2 separate regions of the Homo sapiens genome follow, and region 2 is linked to region 1. The links are contacts of gene promoters, found by promoter capture Hi-C in human tissues and cell types (Jung and others, 2019). All regions are on one chromosome and are shown on one strand. The core of a region is centred on a gene start or on the middle of the fragment in contact, and the rest is flanking DNA. Distances in the headings are between cores, read along the strand shown.

Region 1 (7,719 bases), core at 2,950-5,449:
AAAAAAAAACAACAAAAATTAGCTGGGCATCATGGTGCATCCCTGTAATCCCAGCTACTCGGGAGGCTGAGGCAGGAGAATCACTTGAACTCGGTAGGCGCAGGTTGCAGTGAGCCAAGATTGTGCCACTGCACTCCAGCCTGGGAGACAGAGGGAGACTCAAAAAAAAAAAAAAAAAAAAGAAAAGAAAAGAAAAAAGAAAAAGAAAAGAATGTTCTCAGACACCACTTGAAATGTAGGCCTCTGCTAGAGAAATACACATGCTGTATTTGTTTGGTAGAGACTTTGTCCCAAGATCACTGCCCTCGCTGCCTCTGCCCTTGAGGCCTGACCATTTCTTTGGGATGACAGTAGTGTCAGCTGAAAATTGTATGATGTGATGTAGCTCAACAGAGCTACAAACAAGTGCTAATAATAGGGCCCAGAAGGAAAATCAACTGTCTAAAACACTTCAGTGGTTGACATTTGGGCTGTAACTTGAAAAATAAGCGAGATTCCGCCAGAAGGAGACATCCAAGTACAGGAAGCACATTTGAGGCCAGGGGACTCACATCCATTAGGACCTAAGTGCTCAGGCTCCAAAAGAATGCCGCCCTCGACTTCCAGAGCAGCGCAGCGTCTGGAGCTGGGGCACCTCTCCATTTCTTTGTATAGGACTGTCCACACTATGAACTGTGGACTTACCTGTCAACTGTGCAGTCTGGAGTGTAAAGTCTGTATTTTATTCAAGTGTAGACTCATCAACTCCCTCAATACCTTCAAAAATGCTCGGAAAGTGAGTGTGATTGGAAGGTAAGGATGTCTTAGGATAAGGCAGGAAAGGAAACACAGGGGGCTGGGCTGAAGACAGGCTGGGACTAGCGTGTGAAGGGTCTTCTTTCCACAGGAGAACTTGGACTTTATCCTCCTGGGCAGGCAACGGGGAGCCGGTGAAGGTCGCATTGCAGGAGGATGGTGATGAAGCTTTTTAAGGAAACATGTGCTGGCACTGTGAGTAATGGACTGTAGCAGAGACCAACCGCGACGCCACTGAATCAAACCAGGTGAGCAGTAACAACGGCAAAACCACTGGGGGGACGGGGAGAAGGAAAGAGTTTTTAGGTAGGATTGACAGAATTTGTAACCACTTGACATGGGAAATGAGGGAGTGTATCTGATCATGGTTTGAGAAATTTATACTAAAGTTTTAAAAAACTGATCTTGTCTAAGGAGAGATGCCATGAAAATGTATTTCATGTTATAACCTCACATCTCAAGGTGAAAATGGATGTTTCTTCTGAGACACAGGTTTGAAAAAAAGAAGATCATGAGGGAACAAAAAGCCCAGTTCTGATTGTTGGAAAGGATTACACAATACGAAGAGAAAGAAGAGATGGAATTCTTTTAGTTTTAGTTTTTTTCTTTTTCTTTTTTTGAGACAGGGTCTCGCTCTGTCACCCAGGCTGGAATGCGGTGGCACAATCACAGCTCACTGCAGCCTCAACCTCAAGCGATCCTCCCACCTCAGCCTCCTGAGTAGCTGGAACCACAGCCATGCACCACATGCCCGGCTACTTTTGTATAATTTTTTAAAGAAATGGGGCTTTGACATATTGCCCAGACTGGTCTTGAACTCTTGGCCTTGGGCGATCTGCCTGCCTTGGCCTCCTAAAGTGCTGGGATTACAGGCATGAGCCACTGAACCCATCCCATTACTTTCTTTTGTAATAGGTAAGACATAGATGTCTGCTGGAATGTAGACATAGACAAAAAAGATTGAAGTTTAACCTACCAGCCGGGAACGGTGGCTCACGCCTGTAATCCCAGCACTTAGGGAGGCTGAGGCAGGCGGATCACGAGGTCAGGAGATCAAGACCATTCTGGCTAACACGGTGAAACCCCATCTCTACTAAAAATACAAAAAATTAGCTGGGCGTGGTGGCATGCGGCTGTAGTCTCAGCTACTCCGGAGGCTGAGGCAGGAGAATCACTTGAACCCGGGAGACTGAGGTTGCAGTGAGCCGAGATTATGCCACGGCACTCCAGCCGGGGTGACAGAGGGAGAGTCAGTCTCAAAAAAAAAAAAAAGTTTAACCTACCAATTTTGGGGCAGAATTCCTAGACTTATACCACATCAATGGCCCTAGCAATGTTATGAACCAAGAGTAAGCTCCTGTAGGTTATCCGTGGAGGTAAAGGAACCAGGCACCTAAGCAAGGACACTATGGCCTACTGGTCAGGGCAGGTTGTCCAGGTAAGCAAGTTTTCTGAAATATGTACATGCTTTTAATATTAAAGGAAATGTGTCTTATGTCGTTAAATGTTCTTTAAAAACATTACTATGAATATAATTATTTAACTTGCAAATTCCCTTAAAGCTAGGATGCAACAAGGTTTCACAAAGAAGGCACCCAACCTTGATGTCAACAGTCTACCCACTATGGGAAGCCGGAGAGGCTTTCTTCCAAAATGCAGAATTGTCAGCATTTGAACGCTGAGTACGAAAAATTATAAGCACAGGCTGGGTACACCGGCTCCCATCTCTAATCCCAGATTTTGGGGGCCCGAGACAGCACTCTGAGCTCAGAGTGCAGACCTGCATAGAGCAAGACCCTGTATCAAAAAACAAAATTAAAAAAGCAGTTGTAAGCACAGGTACACGGTTAACCATGAATATGGTATCCCTGAAAAGCCGTTTTAATGGGGGAACAAACCTAAAATTTGGAATAATTGATAATATGTGTATATGTAGCCAATCAGAGCAGAAACCAGAAAATCAGGCAGCAAGCTTAAGGGAAACGCAACATACTTTGTTTGGTTTCCTTTTCTTCCATAAACTGATCAGGGGTAGGTAGAGTATGCTGCTATAGTTCGGAGTCGTCACCATCCTCACGGAAACGGCAGGAGTGTGAACACCTCCCTGAGCTACCAAGAGCATCTGACTCGTTGCAACGTGGGCCCGAACCCAGCGCCTCTAGGAAACGTGGGGCCGGGGCCTTTTGGTCCCGGGTGTGGGTTGGGGGTTTGGGGAAGGGCCGGGGCCTTGATCCCAGGTGTGGGGTTGGGGATTCCGGGGCTGAGCCGAGGCCTTGGTTAGGGGTGTGGGGCGGGGGTTCGGGGCAGTGCCGGGGCCTTGGTCCCGGGTGTGGGGTTGGGACTTCGGGGCCGGGACCTTCGTCTCAGGTGTGGGGCGGGAGTTCGGGACAGGGCTGGGGCCTGGGTCCCTGGTGGGGCGTTCGGGGCAGTGCCGGGGCCTTGGTCCCGGGTGTGGGGTGGGAGTTTGGGGCAGGGCCGGGGCCTGGGTCCCGGGTGGGGCGTTCGGGGCAGGGCCGGGGCCTTGGTCCCGGGTGTGGGGTGGGAGTTTGGGGCAGGGCCGGGGCCTGGGTCCCCGGTGGGGCCTTCGGGGCAGGGCCGGGGCCTTGGTCCCGGGTGTGGGGTGGGAGTTCTGGGCAGGGCCGGGGCCTTGGTCCCGGGTGTGGGGTGGGAGTTCTGGGCAGGGCCGGGGCCTTGGTCCCGGGGGTGGGGTGAGGGGTTCGGGGCAGGGCCGGGGCCTTGGTCCCGGGTGTGGGGTGGGAGTTCGGGGCAGGGCCGGGGCCTGGGTCCCGGGTGTGGGGTGAGGTGTTCCGGGCAGGGCCGGGACCTTGATCCCAGCTGTGGGGTGGGAGTTCGGGGAAGGGCCAGGGCGTGTCCTGGGTGGCCAGGGTCGGGGCCTGGGTCCTGGGGGTGGGATGAGGGGTTCGGGGCAGGGCCGGGGCCTTGGTCCAGGGTCTGGGGACAGGCTAGGGCCGGGGTCGCCATCCGTCCTGGGCGGCGGGCAGGGGTCTTTAAGGGGCGCACGCGGTGGCGGAGGACCAGGGCCCAGCCCTCCGGAAGTCAGGGCCCACACGGCCCCCCAGCGTCAGGCGCTCCGGTCGCGCCGGGGACGGCGGGCGGGGCGGGCGGGGCGGGCGGGGCGGACGTGCGGCGTGCGCGGGGCGGGGCGATGTGCGCGCACGCGCCAATCGCAAGGCCGCGAGCAGGGTGTACGCGCGGAGAGGCCAAGAAGGCGGCGGGGCGGGCCGAGCGTCGGGTGCGCCCAATCAGCGCGCCGCAACACCATGACGTGAGGCTCTCCCGGGGCTGAGCGCCAGTCCGCGGGACCGGCGGGTGAGTGCGCGAGTTCAGGGCGCGAGGCGCGGGTCCGCGCGGGGGCGGGACTTCCGCAGGGCCCCGGAAGTGGGAGCTGTGTGTTCTCATGCGAACGGGAAGGAGCGTTGGGGATCTGGAGTCCCGGGGTTGAGACATTTTCGGGCCCGAAAGGGGAAGAATCCGCCGCCGCCGCCGCCGCCAGCTCGCGCCCGCCCTCTCCCCTACCTCCGGCCCGGCCCGGCCCGGCCGCGCCGCCTCTCCCTGCCGTCTCTCTCCTCGCCGTCCCCGCGTGTGGCGCGGCCGCCGGGCCCCGGGGTTGAGGCGAGGAGCCCGCGGGCGGCCGGTCGGGCGGGGCGGCGGCGCTGACAGGTGAGGCACCCTGGGCCGCGGCGGGCCGTCCCTCCCGGCCCAGCTCGGACCCGCGCCGCGCCGCCTGTCACTGCGCCGCCATCTTCCCGGAGGACGCGGCCGCGGCGGGCAGGGCCGGGCCTGGGCCGGGGCCGGGGCCGGGGCAGGGGAAGGCCGGGGCCGGGTTGAGGAGGACCGGGGCTAGGGCACGGGAAGGGCCAGGGCTGAGGAGGACCGGGGTCAGGGCCAGGAAAAAGCCGGGGCTGAGGAGGACCGGGGCCGGGGCAGGGGAAAACTGGGGCTGAGGATGGCCGAGGCCGGGGCAGGGGAAGGCCGGGGCCGGGGCTTAGGAGGACCCGTTGAGGCGAGGCGGGAGTCGACGGAGCTGGGTGCCCGGAAGACCGGGCCGGGGTCAGGGTCGGGAGGCCGGGGTTGGGCGAAGGCCGGCGAGGACGGGGGTCGGGCAGGGCCTGGGCGGGGCCGGGGTCGCGGGCCGCGAGCGCCCCCAGGCCGGGCGGGCGCCGGCACCCGCAGTGCGGCGCCAGCCTTGCCACTCGCTCCTCGGTCCCGCCGGAGCCCGGATAGGCGGCCGTGCGGGTGCGGGGCGGGACGGGTCATCAGGGCATCGCATTCCTTTAGAACCAGGAAGTTGGGATCCTGTTGCTCGGTGTGTGTTTGGAACGCTCCTGTTTTCCTGTTGATAGACTTGAGCAGAGGTGGATCTGAAGGAGTTAAAAAAATAAAGTCAGATGTGAAGATTGCCTGTGTTGGTCTTGGGGCTGGGATACATGGGCGGCAGAGAAGCCATCGGAAAGCTGCTGCACCTGCCTCTCAGGGTGCGCTTGGGAACGTGAAGAGTCTTTCCGTTTCAGTGCCGTTGTGCGTCGAAACTTCATGCGAATGTAATTTTGCTTTTCCCCTTATTTTTACGTAAAACGTTCTTAAAACTTGGCTGAGATGAAACTTGAGAAACCTAGCTGTAGAAAACTACCTCCTATCTGGCTTTCGTTTGAGATTCTCTAAGTGGATGCCCAATAACTTGTCTTAATAGTAAATTGGAAGTTTGAAGTTTTGGATAACTGAGAAAACAGGAAGGTTTTCCTTGACAGGGCAGTGGAGTTTGTAAGTATAAACAGTATGCGTGAGGCCTTTTTCTAGAGATGAGAGCAACTCCAAGGTGAACATTGAAGGGGACAGACAAGTTATTTTCCCTTTCGAAAGTTTTTTTCTCTTAGTTTCAGTTGTTTGAATATTTAAATGCACTTGAAATAGGTGCTGAGTTGTAGTTTGTGAAGACCACAGTGGGGAAGAGTGGTGTCCTCTTTTTTCTTGGTGGTCAGGTGGTGTGTGCAGTGTGCAATTTCCATACTTCCCCAACCTGCCTGGCGCCCCTCATTACAGTCAGGGTAATTTACAGAAGTTGAAATCGTTGTGGCTTTTCAGTTTTTTCTCCTTGTATTTAATATGCTGAAAGGCAGTTTTGTAATCAAACCATATAAGAAATAGCTTAATTGAGGTTTGCTAAGTGAAATGCGTTCCGAAAGGCATCAGATTAACAAGCTTATTATTTAATCATAAATTTAATTTGTGTACTTATCTTTGAAACTTGCATTGGTTAGAAATAAATTTTATCCGGTATTTTGAAAAGTTAATGTGAGTTGAGTTGACTTATTTATATGAAACAAAGGCATGGCTTATTCATTAGAAGTTACCCTCGTGTTGCCTACATTTTCTCAATTGTAACAGGGGGATGATGATAATCTCATTTTCTTAGGACTGTTGTAACACAAACATGGAAATGTTGTCTGGTTTTGCTATTTTCACTATTACTGATTTTTTTCTTCCCCCCCCGAGTTGGAGTCTTGTTCTGTCACCCAGGATGGAGTGCAGTGACACGATCTCAACTCACTACAACCTCCACCTCCTAGGTCTTCAAGTTATTCTCCTGCCTCAGCCCCCCGAGTAGCTGGGATTTACAGGCACATGCCACCACACCTGGCTAATTTTTGTATTTTTAGTAGAGACGGGGTTTCAGCATGTTGCCCAGGCTGGTCTCGAACTCCTGGCCTCAAGTGATCCACCTGCCTTGGCCTCTCAAAGTGTTGGGATTACAGGAGTGAGCCACTGCGCCCAGCTTACTGAATTTTTAAAATATTCTACCTTGTAGCTGTCAATCTATTAGCAGAAAGTTTTGTTTTTGTTTTTGTTTTTTTGTTTTGTTTTTTTTGGCTTGTTTACACATGTATCTGGGCAGAGAAAACAGCTTCTGAGCACAGAATGCATATTTGGAGAAAGCAGTTCCACTCTTTTTGAGTAGGAACCAGACAGAAAAAAAGATAACATGGGTACTATTCTGTAGAAGAGTAGCTGAAATTAAGTGGCAGCAAATTCAGGGAGAAATGTAATTTGGTTTAATGTTCGGGAAGATTGCCATTTTTAAAAGTGAGATTTAAAGAATTTATTGAATTTAATGCAATTTCCATAAGTAAGCACAAGTTTTGACAAGTATATATTTAAGGTGTTTTTATGAAGCAGTCTTCACATTATCTTAAAATGTAGTTCTAAAATACGTGCAGGCTGGGTGAGGTGGCTCATTCCTGTAATCCCAGCACTTTGGGAGGCCTAGGTGAGTTTAGGAGCCCAGGAGTTCACCAGCCTGGGCAACATAGAGAGACCTCATCTCTACCAAAAAATCAAAAAATTAGCCAGGCATGGTGGCTCACACCTGTAGTCCAGCTGTTGGAGAAGCTGAAGTGGGAAGATCGCTTGAGCTTGGGAGGTTGAGGCTGCAGTGAGCCATGATCCTGCCACTGCACTCCATCCTGGACAACAGTGAGACCTTGTCTCCCCCCACCCCCAAAACATGCAAATTGGGACATCAAATTGTTAATGGTGTTTACAATGAACAGTGCCTTCAGGTAGCTGCAGCTACTCTACATAGATTTGCAAGTTTTTGTAGTGATAGGCTATGGTAGATGTTACCAGCCAAGGAGTGGCTGACAAACTCCTTTCACTGTTATTTCATTGTCATGTTAAAATTCATATTTTCCGTCAAAATAGTGATAGCTAGGATTATAATCTAGGTCTTCTAATCTTAGTAACGTGTTGTCTATGTTAGGGCCTCTCAAAGTTGTAAAAAAGCTGTATAGATGTGTTACCATCAATCGATTTCATTTGTTTTTATCCTAGTGTTAAAGGTACAAGTTTTTTTTTTTTTTTCTTTCCTGAGGCGGACTTTCACTCTTGTCGCCCAAGCTGGAGTGC
Region 2 (7,719 bases), core at 3,273-5,772, 600 kb after region 1:
GTTAACAAAATTGGAGAATTCAGAACTTCTCATTCCTGATTTCAAAAATATTGCAAAGCTGCAATAACCAGAACAATGTACTGGCATTGAGATAGAGTGATTATATATATGAGAAACAGAATTGAGAGTCCAGAAATAAACCCTTATATTTATGGTCAAATAATTTTTTAATAGAGTTACCCGAGCAATTCAATGAAGAAAAGTTTTTCCAACAACAGATGCTGGGAAATTCGGACATTCACATGAAAAGGAAAAAAGATTAAACCTTGACTCAACGTCATATACCTAAGTTAGTTCAAGTGGATCATAGATCTTAATGTAAGAGCAAAAATTATAAAAATTTTAGAAAACACAGGAGTAAATTTTCATAATCTTGGTTAGGCACAGAGTTCATCAAAGGTATACTACATAAATACTGATAAACTGGACTGGAACAAAATTTAAAACTTTTGTATATCAAAAGACAGAATTAAGTAGAAAGACAAGCCACAGTCTGGGAAAAAATATTTGCAAATTATAAATCTCATGAAGCACTTCTAAGCACCTATGTAATAAATTTTTTCTTTTTTTTTTTTTTTTTTTTTGAGACAGTCTTGCTCTGTCACCCGGGCTGGAGTGCAGTAGCTTGATCTCAGCTTACTGCCACCTCTGCCTCCAAGGTTCAAGTGATTCTCCTGCCTCAGCCTCCCAAGTAGCTGGAAGTACAGGCATGCACCACCACACCTGGCTATTTTTTTTGTATTTTTAGTAGAGACAGTGTTTTGCCATGTTGGCCAGGCTGGTCTTGAACTCCTTACCTCAAGTAATCTGCCCGCTTCAGCCTCCCAAAGTGCTGGGATTACAGGCGTGAGCCACTGCACCCAGCCTATGTAATAAACACTCAAAACTCAGAAACAAGCAACATAAACACGGGCAAGAGATCTGAATAGATATCTCACCAGAAGAAGACATACAAATGGCCAATAAGGACGTGAAAAGATACCTAGCGTTAATTAGGGAAATGCAAATTAAAACCACAGTGAGATACCACTTCACACCCACTAGAATGCTGTCACCGAAAACACAGGAAATAAAGTTGGAGAGCTCGTGTTTTCTGACTTCAAAACTTACACTGCAAAGCAACAGTAACCAAGAAGGTGGAAAAACGAATTCTCATACATTGATAGTGGGAATGTAAAATGGGGAAGCCACTGTTTGGCATGATCTTAATTAAGCAGACTTGCTGCATTGACTCAGCAGCTGCACTCCTAGGAGAAAGGAAAGCGAACATCCACTCAGAGACTTGGTGTAAGTTCCCTGGAACCTCGGTCAACACAAGGAAACAATCCAGGTATCCGCTAGCAGGTGACTGAACAGGTGACGCCTGCCACGTCCACATGGTGGGTGCTTCTGCACAGGATGAGCTCAGAAGCACCTGCTGAGGGAGGGAAGTGTGGCTGTGTGGTAGGCAGTGTCCAGAAAAGGCAAATTTGTAAACAAAGTAGAATGATGACTGGGGCTAGGGCTGGAAATGGGACTGACTGCAGATGGACACGGGATCCCTTTCAGGTGATGGGAATGTTCTAGAGTAGTGACCATTTTACAACTCTTCAATTTTATTAAAAGCCATTCTGTGCTTAAAATGAGTGAAACTTAGGGTATGCAAAGTATACCTAAATAAAGCCGACGGGTGTTTTAAAAAGAATAGGCCGGGTGCGGTGGCTCATGCAGGTAATCCCAGCACTTTGGGAGGCTGAGGTGGGTGGATCACTTGAGGTCAGGAGTTTGAGACCAGCCTGGCCAACATGATGAAACCTCGTCTCTGCTAAAAATACAAAAATTAGCCTGGCGTGGTGGCACACGCCTGTCATCCCAGCTACTCAGGAGCATGAGGCAGGAGAATCACTTGAACCCAGGAGGCAGAGGTTGCATTGAGCCAAGAATGCACCACTGCACTCCAACCTGGGCGACGGAGTGAGACTCTGTCTCAACAATAAAAAATAATAAAGTGCTTCATTGCAGTAACTCAAGTGTGTAGGGAGACCCTGGGCTGGATGGCATGCCTGCTGGCAGACAGGGTATGACCCAGGACCCCCAGGTGAGATGAACCTGTCTTGTTGAATTCCCAAGTTAGGAGAGTTTTCAGTTGTTGGTATATTTTGTCAGGTTAGTAATCTGAAATCATCAAATTGCTAATGTGCGAATGTGTATTACTTACCAAAATGTCTATTTTTATTCTTTTTGAAGTTAAGATCTGAAGAACAGCTCAGGTTCCCAACATTCTCAGAGAATAATGTCTTGAGAATAAGCAACCTGCTCTTAAGTAGGTTTGTCTTGTCCATAGCAGAATTTATTGCCAGTGCCAAAAATCAATTTTGGCTAATACAGCAATTAATCAAAATTTGCTGTATTGAGTGAGGTAAGGGCAATTAGGAAATCATGAGTTGGGTTTTCTATTTGTTTCTGCTGTCAAGATTTGTGTTTTCTTAATGTTGATTTCTTATTTATGGTGATGAGGAGGGAGGTGAAACTATATTTAGTTTTCACAAGTATATTTGAAATTCTCTGGCCAGGAATTCACACTGGGTTCCCAAGCCCGTTGTGTGCTGACAATTCTGACAGAGCAAATCATTAATGCTGATGTGTATTTTTGAGGAAGCCACTTCCAGGGACACTTAGAAATGGTTAAAATGACTTTGGGTGTCCGAGGCAGGAGGATTGCTTGAACCTAGGCGTTCAAGACCAGCTTGGGCAACATAGTGAGACCCCATCTCCACAAAAAAAGTTTTAAGTTAGCCAGTCATGGTGGTATGTGCCTCTAGTCTCTAGTCCCAGTCATGGTGGTACGTGCCTCTAGTCCCAGATACTTGGGAAGTGGGAGGATCACTTGAGCCCATGAGGTCAGGGCTACAGTGAGCTGTGATCACACCACTGCACTCTAGCCTGGGTGACAAAGTAAGACTCTGTCTCAGAAAAAAAGAAAAGAAGTGGTTAATATGGTAAATGTTATGTTACATATGTTTTACCACAGTAAAATTTTTAAAACTAAGATGAAATGGCCAGTTTACAGCAGAGTAAAAATTCGAGGCCTGATATTCACCCCTTATGTGCCTAACCCTGTTCTCAAAGTATTAAACCCTTGGAAAGGTCACTATTTGCTAGAAAGTCGTCCCTCGGTGTCCACGGAGGAGATAGGTTCCGGGACCACTGCAGAAAGCAAAGAGCGAGGATGCTCAAGTCCCTGATATAAAATGGCATCATACGAGCACATCACCTATGCACTTCCTCTCTCATGTTTTAAATAATTTCTGGATTACTTGTAATACCTAACACAATGTAAATGCTGTGTGAATAGTTGTACTATGTTGTTTAGTCACTAATGATAAGAAAATCTACAAGTTAGGTATAGATGCAGATTTTTTCATGAATATCTTTGATTCATGGTTGAAGCCAGGGGTGAGGAACCCACAGACACAGAGGGCTATGTGTCCTTTTGAAAAGAATAAATCAAGCTTTGGAATAAGAATGAGGAAAGAAATGGAAAATTGCCCAAAAACGCCTTTGTCACATTTGCCGAAGAGTAGTTTTTCATACTAAGGGTCCCGTTTGAAATAAATTTTGTTAGCCAACCTAACTTCCTTACATTTCTTTAGTTGGATTCTCTTATAAACAATTATGAAAATTTTTAGATGAGATTGGCTACATTAAAGAACTGGCTTTAGTATTATAGCATAGTAGTTAACAAGGCCTAACTCGTTAATCATAGTGCTGTTTCACTGATAAAATTTTGCGTAGGCCTCTTATGGCAGCTCATGCCTATAATCCTAGCACTTTGGGAGGCTAAGATAGGAGGAGTACTTGAAGCCAGGAGTTTGAGACCAGCCTGGGCAACAATACGAAACCGTATCTACAAAAAAAAAAAAAAAAAAAATTAGCCAGGCATAGTGTTGTGCATCTGTAGTCCCAGCTACTCAGGGACTGAGGTGGGAGGATGGCCTCAGCTTGAAAGGCAGAGGTTATAATGAACCCAGATCACACCACTGCACTCCAGTCTGGGTGACAGAGTGAGACCCTGTCTCAAAAAAAAAAAAAAAAAATTGTGTAGGTTGGGCATGGTGGCTCATGCCTGTAATCCCAACACTTTGGGAGGCCAGGCACATCTTACATGGCCACAGCAGGAACAAGAGAGGATTGCTTGAGCCCCGAAGTTCAAGATGAGCCTAGGCAACATAGACCCTACCACTGAAAAAAAAAAAAAACAAGCATGGTGGTGCACACCTGTGGTCCTACTGACTCAGGAGAGGCAGGAGAATTGCTGGAGCCCAGGAGTTTGAGGTGACAGGTAGCTATGATTACACCACCCTACTCTAGCCTGGGCAACAGAACGTTCCCGTTAATTAAATTGTAAATCTTAGAACGTGATTTATCTAGGATATTTTATTTTAATGTATGGTATCTATTGTGAATTCATAGTAGTAAACAAAATTAAAACCATTAAAAATGTAGTTTTGACAAGTTGTTAAATCCACACTTACCCCATCAATTGATAAAATATGTAATCTATCACTTTTTCATTTCTCTAAATCTGTTCTCTAGTATGAAGGTAAAATTAAAGAATCGTTATTTTTCTCTATTTCTTCTGTTTGGTAATTCGTTGGGATCCTTTTTAGTAAAAATCTGATCTTAAAAAGATTGAGTGACTAACTTTAATTACCATAATTGTCTTTTTTTCACCCTGGCTGTCAGTTTTCTAAACCAGGTATAGGCCTGCTCTTTATTAAATTGCTGTTTGGTAAATATTTTAGGTTCTGTGGTCTCTGACCACTCAGCTCAAAGCCACTGGAGACAATATTTAAACAAATGAGTGGTGGTGGCCCTGTTCCAATAAAACTTTATTTACAAAAACAGGAAGTGTCTGTGGTTTGCCAGCTCCTGTTCTGAAGCTGGACTTTTTTTTTTTAAACCGAAATTTGATCCCTGTGTTTTCTACTAAGAAAGAGGATCCAGTTTGCTGATGTCGCAGGTCTGAGAGACATCACAGCATCACAGCGTTTAGTAGTCTTAAATGTGTGTTCAAAGTGGTAGGAACTGCCCCATGATTCTGTAGTACGTATTTGCTTTTCAGAAGGCTTTCGTGAACATGGTTGCAGTTTGCAGCGTTGGCTTTACTGTGCCCTTCTACAGATGGCAGCACGGGCTGTTCCAAGTCCTCCTTTTCCTTGGAGTCAGTGCTGCCCTGAGCCCTCCAGCCTTGCTGAGCTCCAGCCTTGCTGAGCTCCCGCCCTGACAGCCTCTTCTTTCTCTGCAGTGTGTATTCTGGGCACCAGTCCATCCTGATCCCGCCCTCTGAGCTGGAAACCAACCCCGCCTTGTGGCTTCTTGCCGTGAGTCAGTACAAAGTCCGAGACACGTTTTGCTCCTACTCCGTGATGGAGCTGTGCACCAAGGGGCTGGGCTCGCAAACAGAGTCCCTCAAGGTAAGCAGCTCCCTTGGCAGCTCAGTGCCCTGTGAGCCCACAGGGACTCCTTTCTAAGAAGGCACATCTGTGATGGGGTGAAGTTAAAACAGTCCTCCAAAACAAAGCCTGGGTTTAATCTAACGTCACCTGAAGCTTACAAACTGCCTTTATATGAAAATCTTTTTAACGTGAATATTTCCCCACGACCACAGACAGTAACGAACCAGAATGTAAAATATTTTCAATGCCTGTCATTCCACTGGGTCTACTTGAAAGATCCTAAATTTGATTTTTTGTTGGGTGGATTCAGTGTTCTGAAGTGTTCAGTGTTCAGAAGATCTTAGGTGATGTTAACTTTATTTGATACTGGTGTTTAAGAAGGTAGGTTTGAATTTAGCCGCTCACTTTTATTTTCCCTGGAGACCCTGATTTCTGGGTCTGGACCCTAAGCTCAATTCATTTTACAGTTCAGTTAACAGTGTTGTGTTTCATTTTTTAATAATTGCTATTATGTAAGAATAATAGTATTTCCCTCCATTTAAACCAAGGACATTTTGATACGTATATCTTCATGGTAAATTAAGTAGTCCTTAGCTCCAAGTAACTAGGAGGGAATAATCATCTGACCAGTTTTGATAAAATTTCAACTGACTTTGTACTCTTTGGATGTGTGTATGTCTTTGTATATACATGGATTGTGTTTGTGTTTCTGTCATCTACACAGAGATCAATAACGGAACAGTACATTTATCTGTCCTGCATTGTTTTCCTAATGCATAAAGCTTGGACAGGAAAGCAAAATGCAAGATAACTTTATGTAACATAAGTAATTGTGCAATCATTTTAAGTTTTTATATAGGAAAAAGTTAGCACTATTCATGTTCATCTATATTGTATTAGAAAGTGAGTACATTTTCATGACCTTCCTGTTGGCACATATATAAATAACCAGAATAAAATCATGACATAGTTGAGGGTCAGTATGCAATTTACGTATTCATTTCATCCTTACAATAGCTCTCTGAAATAGGAGCCCTTATTGTCTCCATTTTAAAGCTGAGGAAACTTATGTCATAGAGAAATTAAGCAACCTTTCCAGGTTCTTAGGCTGAACGAACCTGGAGCCAAATTTAGAATCTTTGGCTTCAGACCTGCTGTTGCAGCTGCATGCTGCTTTACCTCTCAGACGTGCGCGCGTGTGAATATGTAATTTGTGTCACCCAGACTTGAGTTTTTCCTGTTTAACTCTGTGTGTACAGTCGTGTCTGTACACTGAGCACGAATGTCAAAGCCAGCTCGAGCTGTGCGTCCTCCTTGCTCAGGACCCTTGTCGGTTGTCCGTGTGCCGAGGCTGCCTTGAAAGGGTTCGCAGGGCCTGACGGTTGGGGTTTTGGTGGCCGCCCCCTTAGCAGCTCTGGGTTCCACTCCAAGACGCAGACATTCACGGCTCGCCTTCACATTCACAAGCCATTCCTGTCGCTCCCTTACTTTCCCTCTGCTCGGCCCAGGTAGTGCCACAGAGTGAGCTGAGCTTAACTCCTTGAATTCCTGTATGACTTTTTCTGTTGTGCTCGGCTGACTGAATTTGGTGTGGAAACTGAGATGTTGTTAATCTTTTGCTTACTGTGGAAACAGACACGCTTGAGAATGAGAAGAAATTCTTGGCGTAATGGGACATAAATGGAGCACTGTCTATGAAGTCATCCAAAAATTTTAGTTTTATATTCCTATATATTAAAATGTAGGTTTTCAGGCTGGGTGTGGTGGTACATGTCTGCAGTCCCAGCTACTTGGGAGACCACAAGGTGGGAGGGTCACTTGAGCCGAGGAGTTCAACTCCAGCCTGGGCAGCATAGCAAGATCCCATCTCTTTTACATGTAGATTTTTCCCGTTCCTCTCCAGTGTGTGTTCTGGTACATCCATGCCCAGAAGAATGTATCAGATGGCTCTCTTTTCCCGAACGGCCTTTCATCGTCTCAGCCAGGAAGTTGCTTTTCCTCAACCTTTTTCCTCATAACAGTTCTTGCTGTGGCTCCAGGTGGTTGTTTGAGACGTGTTTGTAATTCCATTCTTAATCATTTGAATAGTTGTGTGAATGTTTTTTCACCAACTCCTGGTTTGTTATATTGAAGAAGTGGACACAGGTGGCCCTGGAAATGCATAGCTGTGTTGAGTTTTCCAATGTTTACGTGGGGATCTGTGGGAAGGAGTCTCTGGCTCACTCCAAGCTCGACACGTGGGGGCTGACTCGGTTTCTCTGTCATCATCTCCAGGCGCGAG

The links. The method cuts DNA at HindIII sites, captures the fragments that hold promoters and counts their contacts. A contact is called where the count stands out against the background at its distance.
Region 2: a fragment that was not itself captured here is called in contact with the fragment with the promoter of LARP4B in region 1 in 2 of the 25 tissues and cell types used here (dorsolateral prefrontal cortex and hippocampus).

The regions. Positions count from the first base shown.
Region 1 is chr10:928,185-935,903 of GRCh38, reverse strand. It overlaps LARP4B (La ribonucleoprotein 4B), which reads left to right and starts at 4,199. Exons shown (of 18, transcript NM_015155.3): 1 at 4,199-4,476. LOC124902363 (keratinocyte proline-rich protein-like) reads right to left here and starts at 3,913. Exons shown (of 2, transcript XM_047426111.1): 1 at 2,789-3,913; 2 at 1-1,068. The coding sequence starts at 3,777. The coding sequence ends at 3,073. LARP4B-DT (LARP4B divergent transcript) reads right to left here and starts at 2,878. Exons shown (of 3, transcript NR_120629.1): 1 at 2,789-2,878. RefSeq lists silencers at 3,619-3,708, 3,789-4,498, 4,569-4,678, 4,709-4,788, 4,879-5,008. The HindIII fragment of the contact is 5,279 bases long and covers 1,866-7,144 here.
Region 2 is chr10:327,170-334,888 of GRCh38, reverse strand. It overlaps DIP2C (disco interacting protein 2 homolog C), which reads left to right. Exons shown (of 37, transcript NM_014974.3): 30 at 5,288-5,456; 31 at 7,713-7,719. Among named protein-coding and RNA genes, the nearest start is that of ZMYND11, 200 kb to the right of the region's middle. The HindIII fragment of the contact is 5,847 bases long and covers 1,599-7,445 here.